2 separate regions of the Homo sapiens genome follow, and region 2 is linked to region 1. The links are contacts of gene promoters, found by promoter capture Hi-C in human tissues and cell types (Jung and others, 2019). All regions are on one chromosome and are shown on one strand. The core of a region is centred on a gene start or on the middle of the fragment in contact, and the rest is flanking DNA. Distances in the headings are between cores, read along the strand shown. Region 1 holds the start of CHADL (chondroadherin like). Region 2 overlaps ZC3H7B (zinc finger CCCH-type containing 7B).

The links. The method cuts DNA at HindIII sites, captures the fragments that hold promoters and counts their contacts. A contact is called where the count stands out against the background at its distance.
Region 2: a fragment that was not itself captured here is called in contact with the fragment with the promoter of CHADL in region 1 in 2 of the 25 tissues and cell types used here (dorsolateral prefrontal cortex and mesenchymal stem cells).

What each region holds. Positions count from the first base shown.
Region 1 is chr22:41,238,490-41,244,697 of GRCh38, reverse strand. CHADL (chondroadherin like) reads left to right here and starts at 3,767. Exons shown (of 6, transcript NM_138481.2): 1 at 3,767-3,824; 2 at 5,078-5,255; 3 at 5,813-6,208. The coding sequence starts at 3,817. RefSeq lists enhancers at 3,163-3,663, 3,664-4,164, 5,614-6,201, 6,202-6,208. The HindIII fragment of the contact is 27,215 bases long and covers 1-6,208 here.
Region 2 is chr22:41,323,018-41,329,242 of GRCh38, reverse strand. It overlaps ZC3H7B (zinc finger CCCH-type containing 7B), which reads right to left. Exons shown (of 23, transcript NM_017590.6): 3 at 3,646-3,679; 4 at 3,325-3,522; 5 at 1,879-2,037. Among named protein-coding and RNA genes, the nearest start is that of ZC3H7B, 25 kb to the right of the region's middle. RefSeq lists an enhancer at 4,597-5,097. The HindIII fragment of the contact is 6,758 bases long and covers 239-6,225 here.

The sequences.
Region 1 (6,208 bases), core at 2,518-5,017:
GCTCACGCCTGTAGTAATCCTAGCACTTTGGGAGGACGAGGCGGGCAGATCACTTGAGCCCAGGAATTCAAGACTGGCCTGGCCAACATGGCAAAACCCTGTCTCTACTAAAAATACAAAAATGAGCTGGGTGTGGTGATGCATGCCTGTAGTCTCAGCTACTTGGGAACCTGAGGTGGGAGGATCACCTGAGCCCAAGAAGTGGATGCTGCAGCAAGCCGTGATCGTGCCACTGCACTCCAGCATGACTGACAGCGAGACCCTGTCTCAAAAAAGAGAGAGAGAGCTTGTAGGAGATAGTGTAAGTGAGTATCTTCAAGGCCTTAGGAGTGAGGAAAAGATGAATAAATTAAGCTGTATTTAACCTCCTTTGCCATTATCGTGGGATGTTCACACAATGGAAATGATGTAGCAGTGAGAACAGGTTTCTGTTTATCAAAATACTCATTAAGGAGTACAAAGGCAACTTACAGACAGGGAGAAAATAATTGCCTAAACTCTCTCTGTATATATATATGGGTGGGGGGGATAACTTTAATTTTTTTCAAACAGGGTCTCATGTTGCCCAGCTTCTATCTCGGCTCACTGCAGCCTCTACCCCCCGGGCTCAGGTGATCCTCCCAGAGAAACATAATCACAGTGTGACACTCTTATGCCCTCACTAGAATGGCTAAAATACAAAATACAGTACCAAGTTTGGTGAGGATTTGGGGCAACTGGAGTGGCTGGCAGATGTGTAAATTGGTACAACCTTTTTTTTTTTTTTTTTTTTTTTTGAGACAGGGTCTTGCCATGTCACCCAGGCTGGGGTGCAGTGGTGTGATCACAGCTCACTGCAGCCTCGACCTCCTGGGCTCACTTAGTCTTCGTGCCTCAGCCTCCCAAGTAGCTGGGACCATGTCACAAGCCACCACGTTCAGCTTTTTTTTGTAAAGACAGGGTCTCATTGTGTTGTCCAGGCTGGTCTTGAATTATTGGGCTCAAGTGATCCTCCCGCCTCAGCTCACTTAACAGGCATGAACCACCATGCCCGGCTACAGTGCTCTTTCTAATAAACCCATGCTGGAAACAACCCAAATGTCTATCACTAGAGGAATGGGTAAGCTACTTGTGGTACGGTGTGGTACCGAGAAGGTAGGAATGGTCTGCCCAAGAAGAAATATTTTAGCATTGACATTGTTTAGACTTGTCAGCACATGATAATAAAAAGCAGAGACCAACTTTAAGTCAGTTCCATTGTGTCTCACTTCTCCACTGACAGCACACCCGCTTACTGCCTGCATTGTGGGCAGACTGCCTCCCGCCCCTGCCCCATGCCACTGTTGTCATATATTTATAGAATGGAAGGCTGGAATGCTGAATTTAAAAAAAAAATTAAAATAGATGAAGCCGGGTGCGGGCTCACACCTGTAAATCCTAGGACTTTGGGAGGTTGAGGCGGGCGGATCACTTGAGGTCAGGAGTTTGTGACCTGCCTGGCCAATATGGTGAGACCCGTCTCTACTAAAAATACAAAAATTAGCTGGGTGTGGTGGCGGGTGCCTGTAATCCCAGCTACTCGGGAAGCTGAAGCAGAATTCCTTGAACCTGGGAGGCGGAGGTTGCAGTGAGCTGAGATCACGCCACTGTACTCTAGCCTGGGCAACGAGAGCTAGACTCCGTCTCAAAAAAAAAATAAAAAGATGATTCTCACTAACATAATATTGAGTGGAAAACGCCAGACACAGCCAGGTGCAGTGGCTCATGCCTGTAATCCTAACGCTTTGGGAGGCCGAGGTGGGAGGATCACTTGTGCCCCGGAGTTCAAGACCAGCCTGGACAACATAGCAAGACCCCAACTCTACAACAAATTTTAAAACCAGCTGGAGGTGGCGGTGCATATCTGGAGGTCCCAGCTGCTTGGGAGGCTGGTATGTCAAGGCCGCAGTGAGCCATGATCACACTTCACTCACACCTGGGCAACAGTGAGACCCTGTCTCAAAAAAAGGACGAAAGAGCACACTGAAGTTCCATTGATTGGAATTTGCCAAGCAAAAAAAGCACAAAGCAGATGGCTGTGTGGCATGGCACTATTTCTTTTTTTAAAATGTTACTGCAGGGCTGGGCGTGGTGACTCATGCCTGTAATCCCAGCACTTTGGGAGATCAAGGCGGGCAGATCACTTGAGGTCAGGAGTTCGGGACCGGCCTGGCCAACATGGCGAAACCCCGTCTCTACTAAAAATGCAAAAATTAACCAGATGTGGTGGTACACATCTGTCATCCCAGCTACTTGGGAAGCTGAGGCAGGAGAATCGCATGAACCAGGGAGGTGGAGGTTGCAGTGAGCTCCAGCCTGGGCGATAAAGTGAGACTCTGTCTCAAAAAACAAAAAACTCCTGCAGTCTAGGAAAAGTACACACAGATGTTCATTGTTTAACATATATAAATATATATAAACATATACATTTATATTTTTATTATATATAAATATATACACACATAAGTGTATACACACACACATACATATATATATATATATATATATATATATATATATATATATATATATATATGTATATATTTTTTTTCTTTTTTGAGACAGTTTCACTCTGTTGCCCAGGCTAGAGTGCAGTGGCGCCATCTCGGCTCTCGCGTTCATGCCATTTGCCTGCCTCAGCCTCCCAAGTAGCTGGGACTACAGGCGCCTGCCACCACACCCGGCTAATTTTTTGTACTTTTAGTAGAGATAGGGTTTCACTGTGTTAGCCAGGATGGTCTTGATCTCGACCTCGTGATCCACCCGCCTCCGCCTCCCAAAGTGCTGGGATTACAGGCGTGAGCCACCGCGCCCGGCCTTTTTTTTTTCTCTTGAGACAGAGTCTGTGTTGCCCAGGCTGGTCTCAAACTCCTGGGCTCAAGTGATCCTCCCACCTCAGCCTCCCAAAGTGCTGGGATTACAGGCATGAGCCACTGTGCCTGACCCCTGTTTCCAATTAAAGGAACAAACAGTAGAAGATGCAATTCCATCAGAAGCAGGAATCTGAAAAATCAAGATACATGAACATTGGCCATGGTCTGGATGTATTATTTAAAAAACAAACACGAGCTTGGGAAGATGCGTATTTGGATATTCTTTGCAATATTGTTTGTAAATAGCAAAAAATTGGAGGTAGCCAATGTCCAAGATGAATGGCTAAGTCAATGTGATACATTTACACAATGGAATACTATATACCACAGAATAATGAGATTCGGAAGAGTCAATTTGGATAACTCCCAGTAATCTGAGGTTAAGTGAAAAAAATGAGTGTCTAGAATCCTGTGTGTCCAGTATTAAACTATTTATGTCAATGTGTAAGCACAAACGGAAGGAAAGGGTCACCTGTTCTGAAGCACCCACTGTGTGCCAGGTGCGGGCCTGAACCCCCACTGTGACCTCAGAGCTACTTATTAATGGGATGTGTTTTTCAGAGACTAGGAAGCAGCCTCTGGGAGGGCAGCCCACATGGCAGGAGGGAGCCCAGGACTGCTGACTCCCGGGCCAGCTGCTGGTGCCCCCTCCCTGTCGGGCTGGCCCAAGGATTCAGGCCGGGGCCTCAGTCCTCGGCTGGGGCAGGCAGGAGGCCCTGTAACTCCAGCCGCTGCTCCCGCCCGCCGCCCGCCCCTTCTTCACCTCAGCCTGGGGAAGCCTGGCTTGCCTGGTCTGCCGACAATGCCTCCCATTCAGCCCTGTCCCAGCTGCCAGGCCTGCGGGCCGTGGAGGGGGGCTCCTGCCAGGCGGGGACAGCCTGTCCCTGCGCTGCGCCTCCAGGCTGGACCAGCAGTTCCAGGCGGCATGGAGGGGTGAGTCTTTGGGCCCGATGGTGCAAGGGGGGATTCAGAGCAGCTCAGTGGCCTCAGGTAAGTCTCTGCCCCCTCTGGGCCTCTCAGAGGCTGGCGGGCAGGGGCTCTGGGGACTTCCTGGGGTTCTCCAGGAAGGGGGTCTCCCAAGGTGGGCTCTGAGACACGTGGCAATGTGGCCACTGCCAGGAACTGGTCCTCTGGGGCTTGTCTGAGAGCCCAGCAGTGGTCCCTGCATTATGAATGCTTGTCGCTTCAGCGATCTGTCCCCATGGGTCCCCTCCCTGGCCTGCCCTGAGGCACAGCCTTCACCACAGGCTCTGGAGAAGCCACCAACTCCAACGCAGGGGCTGGAGCCTGGGACCCAAAGGAGACTCCAAAACAGACGATAGTCCAGTGAGCAGCGAGGGGGAGGCTCCTGGGGGCCGGGGAACAGCCCAGCGATGGGGGAGAGGCCATGCCTGACACAGGCTGAGAACAGAGGGGCCAGCTGGGCAGGGGAGGTGATCTATCATCCTAGCGCTTTGGGAGGCCAAGGTGGGACAATCACTTGAGGCCAGGAGTTCAAGACCAGCCCGGGCAACATAGCGAGACCCTGTCTCTACCAGAAGTAATTAAAAAATTAGCCAGGCGTGGTGGTGTGTGCCTGTAGTCCCAGCTACTCAAGAGGCTGAGGTGAGAGGATCACTTTAGCCCAGGAGGTGAAGGCTGCAGTAAGCCATAGTCATTCCACTGCACTCCAGACTCCAGCCTGGGCAACAGAGCAAGGCTTGTCTCTATTTAAACAAACAAACAAAAAAAGACTCAAGGACCCGGACTGGATGCCTCCCTCCTTTCTGGGGGGTACCATTATGCTCCTGCCACCTGGGAGCTGGCATCATATCAGTCTGAGGACAGGCTGCTTCCGAGCCTACCCTGGACCAGAGCCTCACCACAGCCTGAGAACATGCTCTGAACTGGAGTCATTCTCACAGTCAGCAAGTCCTCACTGAGCCATTGGGCAGAGGCAAAGGGACTAACCAGGTCACTTTTCTGAGCCTCGGTTTCCTCCCATGTAAAACAGGACTAATCATAGGACCTCCACTGCGTGGGGGGTGGGGGGCAGGGAGGCTCAGGGTGATTGGCACTTTCCTGGGCCCAAAGGAGGAGGCTCTGAGGGGTTTTTGGGGCAGGAGCTGCACCATGGCTGGGACTAAGTGAGGGACAGCATGTGGCCTCGGCCCTTGTGCACAACAGACTCTCCCTCCCCGTCCCAGGCCCCGGAGCTCCACCCATGTCCCCTTGGTGCTGCCGCTTCTTGTACTTCTGCTGCTGGCCCCGGCTAGGCAGGCCGCCGCCCAGCGCTGCCCACAGGCCTGCATCTGTGACAACTCCAGGCGACACGTTGCCTGCCGGTACCAGAACCTCACTGAGGTGCCAGACGCCATCCCTGAGGTCAGCAGGGCAGGAGCACAGGCACAGAGTGGCAGTGGGGCAAGGTGGGGACCCAGAGGGAGGAGCCTGGGCTGGGCACCAGTTGATCTGCCACCGCCTGCCCGGGAGACCTTGGCAAATTACTTCTCTTTGAGCCTCAGTTTACACTTCTGTAAAATGGGAATAATAAAAACCAGTAACAGGGAGATGATCTATTTAAAATCCTTACTGTGTGAATGGAATAAGTAGGTGACCCATAGATCGATACTGAATTCACTGCAGACCCTGTGGTGGAGAGGCGGGCTGTGGCAGGGTGAGGTGTGGTCTCTGCTCTGCAGAGTCATCAGCTAGTGGAGGAGAGAGAGCGAGGAGGCAGGGACAGCACAGTGTGAAAAATGCCACAGTGGGTGATGCCCAGGGCACTGGAGAGGAAGGCTTCCTGGAGGAGGTGTCAGGGGTCGGATGAAGAGAAATATGGGAAAGGTGACAGGAGAAAAGAGTGTTCCGGGGAAGAAGCAGCACTTGCAAAGGCGGGGTCCCTGCCTGGCTCAGCCCCACTTTCTCCTCGCTGTCCCCAGCTGACCCAGCGGCTGGACCTGCAGGGCAATTTGCTGAAGGTGATCCCCGCAGCCGCCTTCCAGGGCGTGCCTCACCTCACACACCTGGACCTGCGCCACTGCGAGGTGGAGCTGGTGGCCGAGGGCGCCTTCCGTGGCCTGGGCCGCCTGCTCCTGCTCAACCTGGCCTCCAACCACCTGCGTGAGCTGCCCCAGGAGGCGCTGGACGGGCTGGGCTCGTTGCGGCGGCTGGAGCTGGAGGGGAACGCACTGGAGGAGCTGCGGCCGGGGACGTTCGGGGCACTGGGTGCGCTGGCCACGCTAAACCTGGCCCACAACGCCCTGGTTTACCTGCCCGCCATGGCCTTCCAGGGGCTACTGCGCGTCCGCTGGCTGCGGCTGTCGCACAACGCGCTC
Region 2 (6,225 bases), core at 2,368-4,867, 85 kb before region 1:
TGGGGATTTGGGGATTGTCTCTTTCTTTTTGATTTTTTGAGATGGAGTCTTGCTCAGTCACCCAGGGTGGAGTGCAGTGGCGCGATCTCAGCTCACTACAACCTTTGCCTCCTGAGTTCAAGAGATTCTCCTGCCTCAGCCTTCGCGTAGCTGGGATTACAGGCATGTGCCACCATGCCCAGCTAATTTTTTTTTTTTTTTTTTTTTTTTTGTATTTTAGTAGAGACAGGGTTTCACCATGTTGGCCAGGCTGGTCTTGAACTCCTGACCTCAAGTGATCCACCCGCCTCGGCCTCCCAAAGTGTTGGGATTACAGGCGTGAGCCACTGTGCCCGGCCATCTCTTTCTTTTTTTAAACAGGAATGAGGTCACATTATATAGTTCTACAACTTGTTTCTATCGCCAAACAATCTCCTGCAACCCCCAGCAAGTGACGATACATACATGAGGCACAGGGTTGTAAGGCTCCAAGGAGGCAGGGCATAGAAAGCTTGTAACAGTGCCTGGACCACACTTAGTGATCACTAAACAGCAACCATCCTTCCTTCCCTTCCAAGGCTGTAATACAGAACATACACTACGTGCCAAGCAAGAGTGAGGGGCTAAGGATACCCCAGCGAACAGGGCAGATGGGCCCAGGCCTCATGGAGATTCCAATCTAAAGGGGGAGAACAGTCAGTGAACAAAGAAACAGGTGGCTACAAACTGGGGTCCAGGCACAAAAGGGCAAGGAAGACACTGTGACATCTGTGCACGTGTCTACCTCCTACCTCACTGACAATCTCCTAGAGGCCAGGGCCTGGGTCGGAGTCATCTCTGGTCCCCAGTGCCCAGCATGGAGCAGGAGCTCGGTCAGTATTTGCCCAACAAAGATTGGGAAAAGAGAGAGTTCCCTAAAGCAGAGCCAGGAGCCCTTAGTTACTTTCCCTGGCCATTTACTAACCCTAACTGGGTCCCAGCTCCTTTCTATCCGCTGTGGTGCGGATGAAACCTGCCCTGTCCTCCTCATGAGTAAGTACCAGTGAGACCTAGGTGTGGATCTGTTGTGGACACTCTAAAATGCTATATGGGTCAGGGGACCATGGTCATAAAGAAAGGCTTTTTTTTTTTTTAATAGACAAGCTCTTGCTTTGTCAAACTCAGGCTGAAGTGCAATGGTGCAATCACAGCTCACTGCAACCTCCACCTCCTGGGCTCAAGTGATCCTCCCACCTCAGCCTCCTGAGTAGCTGGGATCTCAGGTGCGTGCCATCATGCCCAGCTAATTTTTTTTTAATTTTTTGTTGAAACAGGGTCTTGCTATGTTGCTCAGGCTAGTTGCAAACTCCTGAGCTCAAGTGATCCTCCCGCCTTGGCCTCCCACAGTGCTGGGATTACAGGCATGAGCCACTGTGTCTGGCCAAGAAAGGGTCTTAATTGTGAACTAAACAGAATTAGCAAAACAGGCACACGCCATCATGCCCGGCTAAATTTTGTATTTTTTGTAGAGATGGGGTTTTGCCATGTTGGCCAGGCTGGTCTCAAACTCCTGACCTCAGGTGATCCGCCTGCCTCAGCCTCCGAAAGTGCTGAGATTACAGGCGTGAGCCACTGTGTCTGGCCTCATCATCTTTAAAATGAGAATAATCACAGTATCTGCCTCTTAGGGTTATTGCCAGTATTAGGTGAGTTAATACACACAATGCATCCTAGCAGTGCCTGGCACCCAGTCAGCGCTCAGAGAATGGGAGCTAGTGTTAACATCAGGATCTGCATGGCCATGTCACAGGGGAGGAAGTGAGACACAGAAGGATGTGGTGGCTGGGCCCAAGTGAGGGCCGGAAGGTCAGAAGCCTGGCCTCTGAGCAGGCACCGGCGTGGCTGCAGAGCCACACTCACGTGGGGCAGGGCGAGGGAACACCGGCTGCTGCACTCGTAGGCCTCCTTGTGGCGTCCCAGTTCATTGAGAGCGCGTGCCTTGCGGAACAACGCCCGGATACTCTCACTGTCCAGGCCCAGCGCCTTCTCGCTGTCCTCCAGCGCCTTCTCATACAGGCCCTGCCAGAGAGGAGCATGTGGTCACTGGTCAACACCTGTTACCCTCCCTCCCCCAGGCCTCCTGCCCCTGCCTAGGAAGGAACACCAGCTTCCCTTCCTGGCAGAGACAGAGGAGCTGAAGTCTTGGGTCAGGGACAGGGCTCGAGGCTCCAGGAGAGAAGGAAGCACTCTGGTGTCCAGACTCTGATCAAGGGTGTCTGTGTGTCCAGCTGATGGGGCTGCAGTGGGCACGGGCAGGATATTGCAGGGAAGGGCCTGAAGATCTACAACCATGAGCCCGGCCACTCAAGCACGTCTATTTCCATCTCTGCCTTTGGTTGGGAACATGATGAGCTGAGAGTAACAATGGCATCTCTAAGAGGCAGTGAGACCATGAAGGCAGCTCTGTGTGCAGAGTGTACAAGGGTTAACCCTGAGGCATCCAGGAGCCATTTATCCAGAAGAGTTCGCTGGATGGCAGAGGTGTCATGGGGTCCTCTAGAGAGCCTGCAGCAGAGCCTCCCACAGGATCTCATGAACCTGAGTCAGTGGGTGCACAGGACAGGGAAGAGGAGGAGGCTGCAGCTCTAAGGAGGAGAGGAGGAGGAGGAGGAAGGCACTGAAGTCCGCAAAGAAACAGGAGGCTGAGGCTATGGGAGAAACAGTGAGGAGGCTGAGGCTATGGGAGGAACAGTGAGGAGGCTGAGGCTATGGGAGGAACAGTGAGGAGGCTGAGACTATGGGAGGAACAGTGAGGAGGCTATGGAAGAAACAGTGAGGAGGCTATGGAAGAAACAGTGAGGAGGCTGAGGCTATGGGAGGAACAGTGAGGAGGCTACGGAAGAAACAGTGAGGAGGCTGAGGCTATGGGAGGAACAGTGAGGAGGCTGAGGCTATGGGAGGAACAGTGAGGAGGCTGAGGCTATGGAAGGAACAGTGAGGAGGCTGAGGCTATGGAAGAAACAGTGGGGCCGGGAGGGAGGAGCAGGAGAAGTCAGACTCCCACCAAGGCCCAGGGTCACCCCAAGATTCTAACTTACTTCATCTAGGGCAGGGCTAGGGCTAGGGCATCAGTATCATTTTTTTTAAAAACTTTTTATTATGCATCCGTACTTTTAAAAGCTCTCCAGCTGAGCATGTTGTACAGTTGAGATTAAGAGCCACGAGAACAGACAATGAAATTCTGAAAGCAGGCTGGGAGGAGGCTGGCCCTGGTCTACAGGCTCACTGGGGTATGGGCCTGGCTCGACTGGGCATCCAGGGGATCAGGGCAGCAGAGGAGGAGAGAAAAGAGGGTGCCAGGCTCACCATGGTGAAGTAGCAGGCGGCCCTATTGACATGCAGCTTGCACAGCAGCTCCCGGGGCAGGGCCACCTGGTCAGAGGCAGCGTAGTCGGCCACGTTCAGCCCTTCCATGTACTGCACCAGAGCCTGCTTATAGTCCTTCTCCCGGAACAGATCATTGCCCTCAGCAAACAGATTCTGCACCAGCTTGAGCAGAAAGGCCTGTTGGGGGCAAGGTGTGTAGGGGGCTCATGACCTCTGGCCCCAGCTCTGGCACCCGGCCCACGCCTCTCCCCTGCACATCTCCGCCCTTCACCTTTGCTCAGCCTGGCAGCTGACACTCACCTCATATTCTTCTTGCTTTAGGGGTAGTGTCGACCTATCAGGAAAAGAAAACACGAGGCCTGGGTGAGCCCGGCGGTCCCAGCTTCATGGAGGTCCAGAGCTACTCCTCCAACTCAGACCTCAGCCATCACCTTGTGGACTAGGGTGAACAGACTGCGGTTTTCTTCTCCTAAATCATTGCCATGCAGGCCTTCCAGTTCTGATGGAAGGACCTGCATGTTCCTTGGGGCCAGACAGCCAGGTTTTGCCAGGTACAGGTGTTGAGAAAGAGCAGACTGACCCCAGCCCCACCTCCAGCCTGGCCCCAGTTCCAGCCCCACTTCCAGCCACAGCCCCAGCTCCAGCCCCAACCCAGACAGCCCCAGCCCCAAGCCAGTCCTAGCCCAGCTCAGTTCCAGCTCTACCTCTGGCCCTGGACCTAGCCCCAGTCCCTGCTGCTGAAAAAAACAGCCATCCTCTGCTGAAAAAACCAGCCCTCTCCTAAAGGAAAGCAGGCATTCCAAGCCCTTTCTCAGTTACATGAGGGGAAGGAGGGAGGAGCCACACTTGGGCCTAGGAGGCCCCCAGGACTGGAAAAGGACAAGAGGAAAATCAGACTCTGGCCAAGGCAGAGCGGGGGAAGGCTCCAGCTGCAGCTGAAGGCCAGGAGGAGAGGATGGTGCAGGGGCTGCTGCAGCAGGAGTGCCAGGGACAGGAGCAGGCAGGAAAAGGCAGGAAGTATGAGTGTTGTCAGGGAATTAACACCTAGAACAGGCCTTGGGAAGGACCACGCCCCATCAAACCAAATCCGAGACCACAGGTCCACAGACACTGAGGCACCGGGAGTCCACCTCAGGCCCCTCCCCTGCCCAATCCCACATAACACACGCCCCACCCAATGCCAGGTCTTCACTGAGCCTGTCAGTCCCTCATGCTGGACTCAACAAATCATTCTAGGTGGGGTCTGGGCACCTGCTCCCTCCTGTGGCTAATGCTCCCTCAGTATGAAAGAGGGCATCAGCCCAGGAGAACTGAGGTTCATCTCTCCAATGGGCTCAATGGCCAGGCTGGAAGGGAAGCTGGGCTTTGTCTCCCAGTCCTTCATTCCACAGAGGGAAAAACAGACGCTCAGAGTGGCGCAAGGACTCGCCCAAGGCTGCTTGGCAGGAAGGCATCGGATGCAGGGCTGGGGAGATCTTTCCGTTGCCTGGAGATGCTGCCAGCACCTGGGCAGGAAAGAGTGGCCTAGGCTAGTGCGTGAGAGGTGGGCAGAGGCGCAACGCCAGGAGGGCTGTGTATGCACATGCGTGTGGAAGGTGTCCCCAGTTGTGACATCGGGGCTCACCAGCCCACCTCTCACTTGCCTCCCCACTGTCTGGGCCCCAGACCTGCCCTCCCTCCCCATACTGCTGCAGTGTCTGTCTCCTCTGTTGCCCCCACTAAAGACCCCATCACTACCTTCCTGGCCTCCTGCCTCCAGCCTACCCTCTTCCAGCATCAACTCTACCTTTCATAGGTCATGCGGTCCTAAGACATCTTTTTTTTTTTCCAGACAGAGTCTCGCTGTGTCGCCCAGGCTGGAGTGCAGTGGCCCAATCTCGGCTCACTGCAACCTCCACCTCCCGGGTTCACGCCATTCTCCTGCCTCAGCCTCCAGAGTAGCTGGGACTACAAGCGCCCGCCACCACGCCTGGCTAATTTTTTGTATTTTTAGTAGAGACAGGGTTTCACCATGTTAGCCGGGATGGTCGGGATCTCCTGACCTCATGATCCGCCTGCCTTGGCCTCCCAAAGTGCTGGGATTACAGGCATGAGCCACCGCGCCCGGCCGTAGACATCTTAAGGTCCTCTGCAAGCTGGGGCCAACCCACCTGTCCCAATTCACTTAGGGCTCTCAGGACGTGCTAAGCACATGAAGCACACGTGCACCAACACAGCGTAGGAGGAGTGGGGCAAAAATAGCGGGACTGATGTGAAAAGCAGTGAGTCCCACTGTGCTTCCTGCAAAGCCTTAGGAGGCCAACAGACGGCTTCGGGGAGGCTGCCTTGTAGCTGGGCCTTCCTAGAACGCCCCTTTGGAAAGGAGAAGGAGGGGACGAGAGTGAACATTTACCCCAAGCACCACCTGGTCCCTTAACCTTCACAATGACCCCGTAGGGGAAATGGGAGAACTGGGCTGGGAATCCAGCTCTACAGACATCAGTGACTGAGGCTGGGGACACAGAACTCTTCTTATGGAAGACAGCAGTGGCCGGAGTCACCTTGTTCACCAGACTGGCCTCTGAATAAATTGGAACACTTCCCCAAAATCAAACCCTCACTCCCCAAAATGGGAGAGGACCTGCCGCCCATGAAGAGAGATGAGCTAGCAACCGCTCTGATGAACAAGTCTGAGGAGGGTTTGCAAACTCCCAGCCATGGCAGCAAGGTGGGGTTGGACAACAGCCCAGGGAAGGGGTGCTGAACTTGGGGCCATGCTCTAGGTGCACCCAAAACCCCTAATCAAATCAGCCCAGCGCAGGACACCCTCCAGAAGCGGCCAGGAAAAGTGACTGCGTTGTGCGCTGAGGAAGGAGAATGTGTTGTGTCAATATGAACACT